Regions from separate parts of the Homo sapiens genome. Here all the other regions are linked to region 1. The links are contacts of gene promoters, found by promoter capture Hi-C in human tissues and cell types (Jung and others, 2019). All regions are on one chromosome and are shown on one strand. The core of a region is centred on a gene start or on the middle of the fragment in contact, and the rest is flanking DNA. Distances in the headings are between cores, read along the strand shown. Region 1 holds the start of SF3B5 (splicing factor 3b subunit 5). Region 2 overlaps UTRN (utrophin). Region 3 overlaps UTRN (utrophin). Region 4 overlaps UTRN (utrophin). Region 5 overlaps UTRN (utrophin).

Region 1 (2,700 bases), core at 75-2,574:
AGTTGTCCCTCAGTATTCGTGAGTGATTTGTTCCAGGACCCCCATGGATACCAAAACTAGAGGATGCTCAAGTCCCTGATATAAAACGGCTTGTATTTGCATATACGCACATCCTCCTGTATAGTTTGTCTCTAGATTATTTAACATACCTAATACAATGTAAATGCTATGTAAATAGTTGTTATACTGTATTGTTTAGGGAATAATAACCTTAAAAAGTCTGCATTTCGGTACAGACTGATATTTTCCCCCAATATTTTCAATCAGGTTGGTTGAATCCACAAAACCCACTGAATGGAAGAGCCAAGTAGGGTGAGGTGAGGCCTTGGAGGGAGGATATCAAAATAAGTGGCTAGAGAGGAAGGAGGAGCTTGAGGTGGAAGCCGGAATGTGTGGGAACTGGTGCTGTACTTGCTCACCAAGCACCCTGGTTAGAGCTGAAATAACTCTTTTATGCCACAAACTCCTAAGAGACATAGTTGGGACCAGAACTGGCGCCTGCTGACTTCTGGGTAATCCATCCCCGGTTGTGAAGGGACGGCCGTGCCGCCACGACGGCTCCGAAATACACCAAGAGTTTATTTTCGGGGCTGCTCGTAGTCCAGTCATTCTTGGGTTTCCCATTTCCTATCAGCCCCAAGCCACCCACGGATGCTCCCCACCTCCAGACATCGCCCTCCACTAGGTCCCCAGATCACTTTTAAAACGCGACCAGGGGCCGGGCGCGGTGGCTCACGCCTGTAATCCCAGCACTTTGGGAGTCCGAGGCGGGCGGATCACGAGGTCAGGGGTTCGAGACCAGTGAAACCCCGTCTTTACTAAAAATACAAAAAAACTAGCCGGGCGTGGTGGTGTGCAACTGTCATCCCAGCTACTCGGGAGGCTGAAGCAGGAGAATCGCGTGAACCCAGGAGGCGGAGGTTGCAGTGAGCCGAGATCGCGCCATTGCATTGCAGCCCGGGCAACAGTGCAAGACTCCGTCTTAAACAAACAAACAAACAAACAACAGAACGCGACCAGGAGTCCCGGAAGCCTGCGTGCACGAACTCCCAAGACCACAAGTCCCAGCATGCAACGCTCCTTGTTGGAAAAGGGCCTCCCTTAGCCACTAAGTGGACCATCATGCAACATTCTCTGATGGGGCGGGGATCTCCATGGAGGGGGGAGGCACACTTGTTGCGTCGCCTCAGCAACTCCAATTGCGTGACAGAATGTGCTTCCGCTTCCGCCTCTGAGCCCTATGAGCGAGAGTTACGCTACTTAGTCGTTGTGACGCCATTCTTCTGCGACGGCGCGGACCTGGAGCTTCCGCGCGGTGGCTTCACTCTCCTGTAAAACGCTAGAGCGGCGAGTTGTTACCTGCGTCCTCTGACCTGAGAGCGAAGGGGAAAGCGGCGAGATGACTGACCGCTACACCATCCATAGCCAGCTGGAGCACCTGCAGTCCAAGTACATCGGCACGGGCCACGCCGACACCACCAAGTGGGAGTGGCTGGTGAACCAACACCGCGACTCGTACTGCTCCTACATGGGCCACTTCGACCTTCTCAACTACTTCGCCATTGCGGAGAATGAGAGCAAAGCGCGAGTCCGCTTCAACTTGATGGAAAAGATGCTTCAGCCTTGTGGACCGCCAGCCGACAAGCCCGAGGAGAACTGAGACTCTGCCTTACCACCGCAGTGCGGGGCACCTCTCCCAGCGTTTCTCCGGTTTGCCAATCCTCTTAAGTATTCCTGTCTCCAAAGGACCGGCTCTCCATGGCTCCTGCGCCTCGTGCTTTCCGCGTACAGAAGTGCTTGCCCGGGGAGTCCCGCCTGACCTGCCTTCATGTGGACCCTTAGAACAGCACTGGGAGACCAGCAGGACTCCTGAGAACTGTGCTGGTGGAGAGGTCCTAGAGCCGGCGAGCGTTTGAGAAGAGGGCATGGCGCTGGAGTGAGATGGGATTTGGCGTCTCGTTTTTGGCTAATTGATTGTCATTGGCTTTTTCCATAAAGTTTAGAAATCGTTCAGTCTCTTGGTGTGAACTTTCTGTGTTAGGGTGGAAGGCTCCGGAAAGAGCTGAGCGGGAAGTGGGTTTGGGTGAGGGAGCGCATGCCAGTGTCCATGGCCAGGCACTTAGATCCGCCGTGTCTACCTTTATAATTAATTCCCCGACTGCCACTTTTCCCAAGAGCGTTATTTTCAGGCCCACAATGCCTTCAGTATTGAAATTTGTGGTTATTGTATCCCATCTTCTTTTTCTCCTGTTTTAAAACTCTTTGCAGTCTTTGCTGTCATTGTCCTCCCTAGCCTCTTTAAAATGCATCCTTTTTTTTTTCTTGGGAATTTGTGGCCATGTCTCCAGAAATGACAAGCTGGCAAGCGAGTTCATCCATTCTACATTCAACAAATATTTGTTGAGCTCTATGTGACAGGCATTTTCCCGTGTTCTTGGGGCTTACATTATGCTGGTGGTGGAGAAAGGAGGTCAAACACTAGATGTAATAAGCAAATGTTAGAAGATGCTGCGGGGAGGGGAGAACAATGTATGTGGTGCGGGTGGGAGTAGCTGGTAGGGCTGTAATCTTAAATATGATGCACAAGTTACTGAGATGGTGACATTTGAGCAAAGACTTCAGGAAAATGAGGGAAATGGCCATGCGGAAAACTGGAGAAATTGCTTTCCATGAAGAGGGAACTGCCAGTGCAATGGTACT
Region 2 (2,700 bases), core at 160-2,659, 360 kb before region 1:
TTATAATGATGCACTTAAAAATAATGATGTTTATTTCAATTCCTTGAACAAAGAAGAAAGACATTTTAAAATAACGATTCAGGCACATCAGTAGAACTTCAGCCACTGCCTTTTCTAGATAATATATGTTTCCATCCATGCCATGCTTCTACTCTGCTAGTTTATCACCTGAACCAGTGAAATAAGATCAACTACCTTGATCTGTCTAGGCCCGACTTCAGAAAGAAGACCCTTTGTCCTAAGAAAAAAAGAAAGCTGGCTAGAAAAACTAGGAGGCAGCTCAGGTCTTGGTGACCAAAGCACAGTGTCATATAAATTAAAAAATGAATGGCGAGGATGCCTTATGCTGGGAAGCAACCTGGTGAGTGCAGGAATATTAAGCCAGCAGCCAGGCTCTAGAAGCATCAGCAAGCCCACTGGAGACCTTGCACATAAATAAGCAAATACCAAAAGACTGAGGCAGCAATAAGATGATCTACTTTAGAAACACATCAGGGAAAACAATGCCACCATTTTTATTACTGAAATCTTATCATTTTATTTGTCCGATATTTTTGAAAAGTAGAGAATGTTCCTAAAAATAATAAAGTCATATATAATAATAGGTTTTATCATAGTCCTTCCCTTAATCTAAAATACCTTCAAATCCTCTAAAATGACTATGAAAAAGTATGGGAAATCTTCAAAGGAATCTTTCTATTCGGAGGAAAACATGCATACCAAAAGGATGGCTTCACATTTTTATTGAGTAGGAAAGCAATAAAACAATCCTGCTTTATAAACATATATGATCAAAATCCAGGATAATGAGAGCTTGAACTAAAAAACAAAGGCATAAAAACAAAAAGTCATGTATGATCCACAGACAATGCAACTTTGAAAATTTTTATAATACACTGTGTCTACTGAAAATCATAAATGAGGGCATATCATGCTGTCATTTGAATGTGTCACCTATGTCAATTGCAGAAGTTCACTGTTCACCACCATCTCTCAGGTAAGAGAATATGAGACATAAGCAAAGCATTCACACCACAAGCCATGCTGCATTACCCCTGTTAATGGGGAGAGTATACAAAACAAATCACCATTTTCCTAACAATATGAACAATGGAGATATGGGTCATGCCCCTGCCCCATCATTTCTATTCTAGGCAGGCAAAGGAATAGTAACACCAGCCACATCATCTTTATGTTGGACAATTCATACTAATCAAGGAAGAAAATTAAGTAGGTAAATAAAATTTCTGAGATGGAAAATTACCACTACTCATCTAGAAAACTGGAAAGAGGTGCTCACTTCAAGAACAAGGGCGGTTAAAACAACTTCAGTTATTTTTTCACTGACAATGTCTTACAAGCCATTCATTTTGCCTCTTTAAACCAATTTTAAACATCTGAATCTCCCTTTCTCTAATCCTGAGATATTGCTGGTTACAGTGATGCCCGGTAATGATTCAAACACAATTTACATCTTATAAAAGGAAAACTGCACATTGTCTTTAAAAATAGTTGTTTTACTCCCAGAGATCCAGAGTTTAAAATTTTCTATTTCTATAAAACACAGAGTTCTTAGAAGGTGACTAGTCAAAAGGCAAAATCAACAGAAGATCACTTTATTAATTGTCTAAAAGGGAGAACATAGAACACATTCCTGCCACTCAGTCTCACTTGACTTTACACTTCTCAGTCTATCACTATTGGAATCAAGGGAAACGTTTACAAAACATAGGACCTTCACCAAACTTCCTGGGCTTATATGCTTAGGCAACCACAATGGGCATTGATTCATAAAGCCACATTATCCAGATGCCCAACTACTCTACTGTATTTTACTAGATGAAGAGCTCTAGGAACAAGATAAGCTAAACGAAGAAAACCAAGTATATCAGCTATGAAAGTCAAATGAAACACACTATTTTATTTATTATTATTATTATTATTATTATTATTATTATTATTATTATTTTGAGACAGAGTCTTGCTCTGTCACCAGGCTGGAGTGTAGTGGTGCAATCTCAGCTCACTGCAACCTCCGACTCCCTGGTTCAAGCGATTCTCCTGCCTCAGCCTCCTGAGTAACTGAGATTACAGGCATGTGCCACCATGCCCAGCTAATTTTTGTATTTTTAGTAGAGACGAGGTTTCACCATGTTGCCCAGGATGGTGTTGATCTCCTGACCTCGTGACCCACCCACCTCGGCCTCCCAAAGTTCTGGGATTACAGGTGTGAGCCACTGCGCCCAGCCTCACGCTATTTTATTTTCTAAAATTGTTTCTATGCTCTATGAGATACCTCAAAACTTATGTAAAATGCATTAGGCAGGAAAGACCTATCAGAATTGGCTATGGTGGGCTTTTTGATGGAACTGGTTTCAGAAAAACAGTGACGTGATTATTCAAATATGGGTTTTACTGAAGAATTTGACATGCCTCCCTAACTGAACTGGAACACACAGACTTTATCCAGTTCAGCTCCCCCATTTCTCAGCTTCCCACTGTTGTCCTAAAAAAAATTTTTTAATAGATGCATCTTTAAAACAAAAAAGAATTAGGGTCCTCTAATGAATGCATTTCTAATTCCACCAATGCTTGAAAAAACATGATAATACAAACTATAAAAGGTTTCCTATGAAATTGGGCAAGTATACATTAGGTGACAAAAGCCCCATGTCAACTATTCTCCAGTGTTGCCTTTGG
Region 3 (2,700 bases), core at 170-2,669, 410 kb before region 1:
TGGCAAAGCAGAAGGATCCTAGAACTCACAACTTAAAAAAATTCACAATGAATTTATCTCCTAGATTACCAGAGGAAACTATCGATGTGTACTATAGGTACTTGCAAGGATAACATCTTACAGCTGGGTGATTTCACATATAATATACTGAATAAACATTACAAAAAAACATTTCATGTAAGTAACTCACAAGAGAGCAGCAAGTCTAAGCTTTGGTCTTACAACTGTCATAAGTGCAAAGATAATACTCTGGATGGTATGATGATAAAGTGATCGGCACATTCGTAAGTTTCACCAGGCAAAGTATATAGTCACAGAATTATAGAGAGAGCATGAGTTCCACAATTAAAACTACAAAGCTCTTTCAATCAAAAAGCAATATGCATGTATCTACCCTACTGCTACTATTATTGACCATTTTTTAAATCAACATTTAAACCAATCATTTTAAGGAGCTCAAGTTTATATTTCTACATTAAATCACACCTTGGAAAGCATACCAATTACAAATTCACAAATGAGTCCAGGTTTAAACACTCACTTGGCCATGTCAATTACTGGCATATTTATGACAGAACTGAAATACTACTTTCCAATATTATTCTCTAGCAAGGGGGGAGAAAATAAAGGATACCCAATAGCTATGCTCTCAGCAATTATTAATAAGAATCTTTCATTTCTTCAGTGGGCATGTACTGATTGACTAGAATAGCATTTAAGAACTATAAAAAATAATGAACTACAAGTAATTACATCTAAATAGTACACATACTTTTTTACAGTAAAAAAGATTACATTGAAAATAGTTATATTTAAGTTATGGAATAAAAACAGTATTCAGAAATGAAAATATTATTTATTTAAGCTTTGCATTGAAAATAATTTTACATAATCTTTAAGTGCAAATACATTAAAATGTGGTGAAATCTGCATGTTCCTTAAATCTGAAAAGACAGTGATAAAAAGATGGTGGTTATTAATATATACTGATGTTTCATTTGATTTACTCTAATGAAGAGAATGTGCTGTGAATTTGTGACTTGTATATATCATCTTTATCATTTCAATTCTGAAATAAGATTAAATGGAAACTTAAGAGCATATTGTTCCAAAAGAAACAAATTTTTCATTGCTTTGAGTCTTTACCTAAAAAAGCTATGAGAATCAGCTGAAAAACAAATTGAATTTATGAGTATATGAACATGGATGTTTAAAAATTGAATATATAAAATCAATATCACCTATGTACCAACAATAAGCACTCTGTAAAAAAACCGAAAAGTATATTTTTACATAGCAATAAAAATAGATATGTAGGAATAAACTCCTGTGCATATATGAATAATGTTTATAAAGAAAAAAATCAAAACATTATGTAGGAATGTGAAAGAATTTAGGACAAAAATGAGACATATATGTTACCGAATAGAATTAATATAACAAAGATATCAATTCTGCACTACACAAATGTATGAATTCAAGGCAATTCAAATCAAAATTTCCAATAGAATTTAAGAATTTAACAATAAAAATTCTAAAGTTCATATAAGATATATACCAAAAATGAAGCATAAAGAGAGGGAACCCATTAACTGCAGTTAAAATATACTATAAAACATGGCTAAACATTCTAAAAACTGGTACATTTCATGGGGCCAGATCAGTGGAGCAGAAAACAACGAAAGGCAACAGGAAAATAAGAATATATGAACTTAGCATGTCAAATCCATGGGGACAAGGTTAATTACTCAACCAATAGCACTAAGATAATTGGTTATCCTTTTGGAAAGAAGGTTAGAGCCTTACCTCACGAAATACACCAAAATAAATACTGGAAAGATTAATGCATTAAAGGTAAAAAGATGAAACTATAAAAGAGCTAGCAGAGGAGGTGGCTGGCAAGATGGCCAAACAGGAACAGCTCCAGTCTGCAGCTCCCAGCAAGACCAAAACAGAATGCAGGTGATTTCTGCATTTCCAACAGAGGTACTTGGTTCATCTCACTGGAACTGGTTAGACAGTGGGTGCAGCCCACGGAGGGTGTCGCTTCACCAGGGAAGCGCAAGAGGTTGGGGAACTCCCTCCCCTAGCCAAGGGAAGCCATGAGGGACTGTGCCGTGAGGTACGGTGCTATCCAGCCAAGATACTACACTTTTCTCAAGGCCTTCACAACCTACAGACCCGGAGATTCCCTCAGGTGCCTACATCACCAGGGCCCTGGGTTTCAAGCACTAAACTGGGCAGCCGATTGGGGAGACACCAAGCTAGCTGCAGGAGTTGTTTGTTTGTTTTTTTTCACACCCCAGTGGTGCCTGGAACACCAGCAAGACAGAACCATTCACTCCCCTGGAAAGGGGACTGAAGCCAGGGAGCCAAGTGGTCTAGCTCAGCAGATCCCATCCCCATGGAGCCCGGCAAGCTAAGATCCAACGGCTGGAAATTCTCGCTGCCAGGACAGCAGTCTGAAGTCGACCTGGAATGCTGGAGCTTGGTGGTGAGAGGGGCATCCACCATTACTGAGGCTTGAGTAGGCAGTTTTCCCCTCACAGTGTAAACAAAGCCTCCAGGAAGTTCAAACTGGGCAGAACCCACCACAGCTCAGAAAAGCAACTGTAGCCAGACTGTCTGATCTCTGAAAGAAGGGTGGCAGCCCCAGCAAGGGGCTTATAGAGAAAACTCCCATCTGCCTGGGACAGAGCA
Region 4 (2,700 bases), core at 166-2,665, 340 kb before region 1:
TTTGCAAAGTCAAATATACATTCTGGGCACCGGAGATACAGGGCAAGGGAAGACACCCTTGTCTAAACATTCAAGGTAGCATTTAGTCTTTAAATATAGAAGCCAGGAAAGTAAACTTTTATTTTGTCCTAAATGGAGTTCATTAAATGCAGACAAAGAATGCAAAAAGCAGCACCCTGTATTCATATCAGAATCATTGTTTCTTCAATCAGGAATTCCTGCTTATTAAATAGGTGGAAGTGGCAATGAATGCAGTTTGCTCCTTAAGACACAATACATGAAATAAAATAAACCATGAGAAAGCTTTAAAATAAAAGTCACAAAATGGAAAAGTAGATCAATACTCCATAGTCCTGTCTTCACACCAAGTTAATGTTTAGCTAATCTTAACATTGCAAATAAGTAACTGCCCCTATGAAATGTCTTTTCCTTTTTTTGGAGACAGTCTCACTTTGTTACCCAGGCTGGAGTGCAGTGGCTGAATCTCAGCTCACTGCAATCTCTGTCTCCTGAGTTCAAGCGATCCTCATACCTCAACCTCCCAAGTAGCTAGGATTACAGGCATGGCCCACCATGCCCAGCTAATTTTTGTATTTTTAGTAGAGACGGAGTTTCGCCATGTCGCCCAGGCTGGTCTCAAACTCCTGGCCTCAAGTGATCCATCCGCGTTGGCCTCCCAAGTGCTGGGATTACAGGCATGAGCCACCATGCCTATCCTCTTTTTCCTTTTTGTTAAATTCTGTATTCCAACTTTTATCTTTTGGTGTGGCTAACACATCAAAGGGGAAACAAAGATCATGCAGAATTCCAGCAATATTACCCGTAGAAAAGAGTCTTACTTTTCCAAGGCAAGTTCTGTAATCATCTCGCTTTCACAGACATGCAGACATCTACTAGAGCTCAACTGTGCAAAGCAGCCTGTGGAATTAAGTGCATTTCTTGGCTTTCCACTCACCGGGACTGTCTGTCCATACTCTCCACCCTAAGAGCCTCCCATCTAGCATTCAGCAGGGTCATCTGTTCCTGAATCTCAAATTCTTCTTCGTCTGACAGAGTTCCTTGTGTTATCAGTTGGTTGCCTGCCTGCAGGACGCTGCCCACACTGCTCTGGTGTGCAGTCAGTTCCATCATAAAAGCCTAGAAAGGGACATTGTTATAATTTGTGAGCTACTCAGTGCAAAAAAAAAAAAGGAAGACTGAACAAATTGCTAATGCCTAACCTAAATGTCAGTGATGCAGAAAAAGGTAGCCTAGTAGAGCGCAAATAAAATAGACATTGACCACATTTTTTAATCTCTGAAAATAGGAATAAACACCTGCCATAAGTTAAAAGAGAAATAGCTCAAAGCAAGCAATGATGCATCTGATAATACCAGCTATTTTAAAGTAAATGCTGACTATGCTACTCATAGATCATGAACATGGAATTCTAAATAAATAAAATAAAAGGCTGGGTGTGGTGGCTCACACCTATAATCCCAGCATTTTGGGAGGCTGAGGCAGGTGGATCACCTAGGCCAGGAGTTCAAGACCAGCCTGGACAACAAGGTGAAACCCCGTCTCTAACTAAAAACACAAAAAATTAGCCGGGCGTGGTGGCACATGTTTGCAGTCCCAGCTACTTGGGAGGCTGATGCAGGAGAATCACTTGAAGCCAGGAGGTAGAAGTTGCAGTGAGCCAAGATTGTGCCACTGCACTCCAGCCTGGGTGACAGAGTAAGACTCTGTTAAAAAAAAAAAAATTATAAATATATATATATACACACACATATACATATACATATATAATATATAAATAGATTATATATAAAAATATTTATATATTTTATTTATATATATTTATTTATATATTTTATTTATATATAAAATAAAATATATATTTATTTTTATTTATATATATTTATATATAAATATATATTTATTTATTATATATATAAATATATATATAAAATAAAATACCATACTCACCCAAGAGGAACTGTTTAAGAGATATTACCACTTATATTATTTTCTATCCAAAACAACAAATAAGATCTGTCAATTCACATAACTATACAAAAGAAAAATTTAACCAAAAGAAATCTCCATATAGTGAAATTCACTATGCTGCAATATAGTATGTCCTCAAAGGAGCAGGAAACTTTTATGATATGAAAAAATACAGGAACCCTGGGTATGACATTTGCTTAATCATGCAATTAAAAAGAATAATCATTTCCTAGGGAACACTCAAATCTTAAAGATTTGGTGTATTGGTTCACTCGTTTGCTTTTGAAATATAACAATGCACTTCAGAACTGAGCAGTACTATGCAATGATTTTCATCAGTGGCTCTCCAAAACACACAAGGAGACTAAAATCTAAAATCTAATTCTGAGGCACAGTTTAATCACCCATACCAATTTTGTGACAAAGCACTATTTAAATATCACAGTTCCTGAAATAAACCATTGACCTTTCCAAAGAACAGAATTCAGTAGATAACAAATAGGAGAGTAGAGTCCCTGATTAAGGCTCAGGTCCCGTGGGGGACACACCCTGCTAAGAAACTACAGATATTTACTTCATGGGTTGCAAACTGGTCTTTGACTTCTTCAACATCATCAGAAATATCATCCTGCTCCTGGAAAGTGTCCTCAGCAGAAAGCAACCAGGTCAGCACTTCCTCCAACGCAATCTGATAGCTGTCCAGATCCATGT
Region 5 (2,700 bases), core at 176-2,675, 270 kb before region 1:
CCTTGTATTTGCTTCCTAAACACCTCTGACAGATTCACCTTCTTCTGATCACAAAATATCTTATGCTCCAAACCTCCGAACATCACCCACTGCCTTTAAATTCAGATACATCTATATGCTACAGGGCTAAATGCCTACCTAGCATGGTATTCAGCATGCTTTTTATAGCTACCCCCTATTAATTCTGTGCCCTCTACCTGGAACATTTTCCTCCAGCCCCAACATTGCCATCAGTATCCACAGCAAATGGTACCCCCTTTCATGAAGGCTTTAGATGGTTTCTCTCCCAGCTCTAAACCCATCCCACCCTCACCTTTTGAATTCATATGGTACTTTGTTCCTTATCTATAACAAAATATTGTATATATACACGCCTATATGATCTCTCCCTTTTTTGTTTTGTTTTCTTGTTTGTTTTAGACAGGGAAAGACTGTAATGTGAGTTGAGTGAGTTTGTATCTCTGCCCATCTGCAGGTTTGCTACTGCACAAATTCCTACCAACTGAGTTGGGACCTAGACGCTGTCTTGAGAGGGAAGATGTAAGGCCCAGGTGGAAAATAAACAAATAGTAATAATGCTACAAAGAAACAGGTCCGACCAGGCCAAGTCAGTCCTCAACCATCTTACACCTCACCAGTTCTGGAAAACCAAGCTCTCTGTGCGTCAATTTCAAAATGATTTTAAAGTTGTGTTAGGTCGCTATACCAATGGACATATGTATAGAAATATTTCAGTGCTTCTCGAAGTGAGAAAATTAAAGATGGACAGACTCTTTCCTAACATCTGACTCAAAAGCCTAGAAAACACATAGAAAAGAAGCAAATAATACAGTTCTGTAAGATACTGTGTTTTGTGTGCCATGGTTTCTCTATTTTTAGATTTAAATACTATTGTGTGTCCATCAATTATTATGTATAACCATTAAAAAATCTTTTAAAAACATAAAATTAAAAGTGCTATGTACTGAGAAACTTATTCAAAATCATATTTCAAATAGCAAACCATACCCAAAAAATTAAAAATATTTTTTTAAAAAATAGCAAACCCACATAATACAAAACCTAAGAGAAACTGAGCACTTAACAAAATAAGCATAAATATAACACATTACTTAGCATAAAAACTCATTCTAAATGACCTGGCACACAGTAGGTCCTCAATACACCTTTGTTTTAAAGTCCTGACTCAGTGCAAACTCATCAGCCTCATAGGTCAGATGTTGTAAGGACCCAAGATATTGCATCGCGTGGAAATCAACTTTCACATCACATAACAAGTGGCATGTCATTTTTTTCCTTCTCTACCGTATTTCTAAAACTATTCAGGTGTTGATGCAGACCTTTTTCCATGTCTTGGCAAAGTGTAATTTGAACAGGCAGTTTCTCATGACCTTCAAGTCTGTGTTCAACAATGAAATCATTTGGCTTTATATCCCATCCAGTTATTAATCACAAACAACAAAAGAAGAACTTTCACACAGAAAATGTGAAACCTATGCTGGCCAGCACTCACTCTGGGTCACTCCAGGTCACATTCACTTGTAGCTAAGTTCACTGAAGACCATGCAATGACCTCAGCTATTTAGAAAATACATTCAAAATTTTTCTGGAGAGGAAAAATACAGCTATGTGACTTTAAGACAAGTGCTCCTGGAGGTCAGCAGTCTGAAAAGGGTACAATGAACAACATGGCTGGGTCCTGGGCAGATGGGGGGTGGTGTGCACAGGTCACTGGGTGCCACCGGATGGGCGGGCACATCACCTATCCTCCCTCAGTTGGCTCCTTCACTAAGTGCCTGAGCAGGAAATTTCTACCCTGGCATGGAATGCCCACACCAGGATCTCAGCATTCCCACCCCACCCATGTAGGAAGGAATCCAGCTATTCTAGCAGGATTTAACTTTATATAAATCAGCTCCAATGAGTTGATATGTTTAATAACAAAGCAAACATTCACAACTCTATTTTACTCCTTTTTTTGTTGTTGTTGCCATTATTATGATTACTATGATGAATTTGGCTTTGATTTTTATTCTTTTAAGTAAGAAAGTGGCAGCAAAAAGGAAAAAAAAATTCCAGGAATTGACTTGTGTCTCTCTAATGAAACAGGCAGTTCTGGCTGGGTGAGGTGTCTCACATCTGTAATCTCAGCACTTTTAGGAGACCAAAGTAGGAGGATCACTTAAGCCCAGGAGTTCAAGACCAGCCTGGGCAACATAGCGAGACCCCATCTCTACAAAAAAAAAAAAAAGAAAGAAAGAAAGAAAATTAGCCAGGTGTGGTTTCAGACACCTGTGGTCCCAGCTACTTGGGAAACTGAGGAGGGAGGATCACTTGAACCCAGAAGGTTGAGGCTGCATGAGCCATGGTCATGCCATTGCACTCCAGCCTGGGTAACAGAGTGAGACACTGTCTCTAAAAAAGATAAATAAATAAATAATTTTTTTTTAAAGAACAAGGGACTTATTTCCTTATCAGCCCCGCAATGCCCCTTTTAGCATCCAGAAATAGATCCACCTGGTCTTCCCTGGAAGATTCTGGACTTCCCTGGAAGACTCCTGGATGGTTTTAACTCAAACATAGCCCTCTGGATTAAGCTCACAATTGAAACTAATATTTCCCTGCCTGCCAAGCTAAAATTTTTCCCTGGAGCATTAATAATTAGCTCAAAATCAAGGACAAAATTAGTAGAGCAACACA

The links. The method cuts DNA at HindIII sites, captures the fragments that hold promoters and counts their contacts. A contact is called where the count stands out against the background at its distance.
Region 2: a fragment that was not itself captured here is called in contact with the fragment with the promoter of SF3B5 in region 1 in 1 of the 25 tissues and cell types used here (spleen).
Region 3: a fragment that was not itself captured here is called in contact with the fragment with the promoter of SF3B5 in region 1 in 2 of the 25 tissues and cell types used here (mesenchymal stem cells and spleen).
Region 4: a fragment that was not itself captured here is called in contact with the fragment with the promoter of SF3B5 in region 1 in 2 of the 25 tissues and cell types used here (H1 embryonic stem cells and aorta).
Region 5: a contact is called between a fragment that was not itself captured here and the fragment with the promoter of SF3B5 in region 1, in 1 of the 25 tissues and cell types used here (heart right ventricle).

What each region holds. Positions count from the first base shown.
Region 1 is chr6:144,094,197-144,096,896 of GRCh38, reverse strand. It overlaps SF3B5 (splicing factor 3b subunit 5), which reads left to right and starts at 1,324. Exons shown (of 1, transcript NM_031287.3): 1 at 1,324-2,013. The coding sequence starts at 1,400. The coding sequence ends at 1,660. RefSeq lists an enhancer at 875-1,574. The HindIII fragment of the contact is 26,090 bases long and covers 1-2,700 here.
Region 2 is chr6:144,455,922-144,458,621 of GRCh38, reverse strand. All of the region lies in intron 19 of UTRN (utrophin), which reads right to left. Among named protein-coding and RNA genes, the nearest start is that of SNORA98, 52 kb to the right of the region's middle. The HindIII fragment of the contact is 6,411 bases long and covers 1-2,700 here.
Region 3 is chr6:144,507,883-144,510,582 of GRCh38, reverse strand. All of the region lies in intron 34 of UTRN (utrophin), which reads right to left. Among named protein-coding and RNA genes, the nearest start is that of SNORA98, 100 kb to the right of the region's middle. The HindIII fragment of the contact is 4,170 bases long and covers 1-2,700 here.
Region 4 is chr6:144,436,002-144,438,701 of GRCh38, reverse strand. It overlaps UTRN (utrophin), which reads right to left. Exons shown (of 75, transcript NM_007124.3): 10 at 2,564-2,700; 11 at 956-1,137. Among named protein-coding and RNA genes, the nearest start is that of SNORA98, 32 kb to the right of the region's middle. The HindIII fragment of the contact is 5,247 bases long and covers 1-2,700 here.
Region 5 is chr6:144,361,324-144,364,023 of GRCh38, reverse strand. All of the region lies in intron 2 of UTRN (utrophin), which reads right to left. Among named protein-coding and RNA genes, the nearest start is that of SNORA98, 43 kb to the left of the region's middle. The HindIII fragment of the contact is 8,226 bases long and covers 1-2,700 here.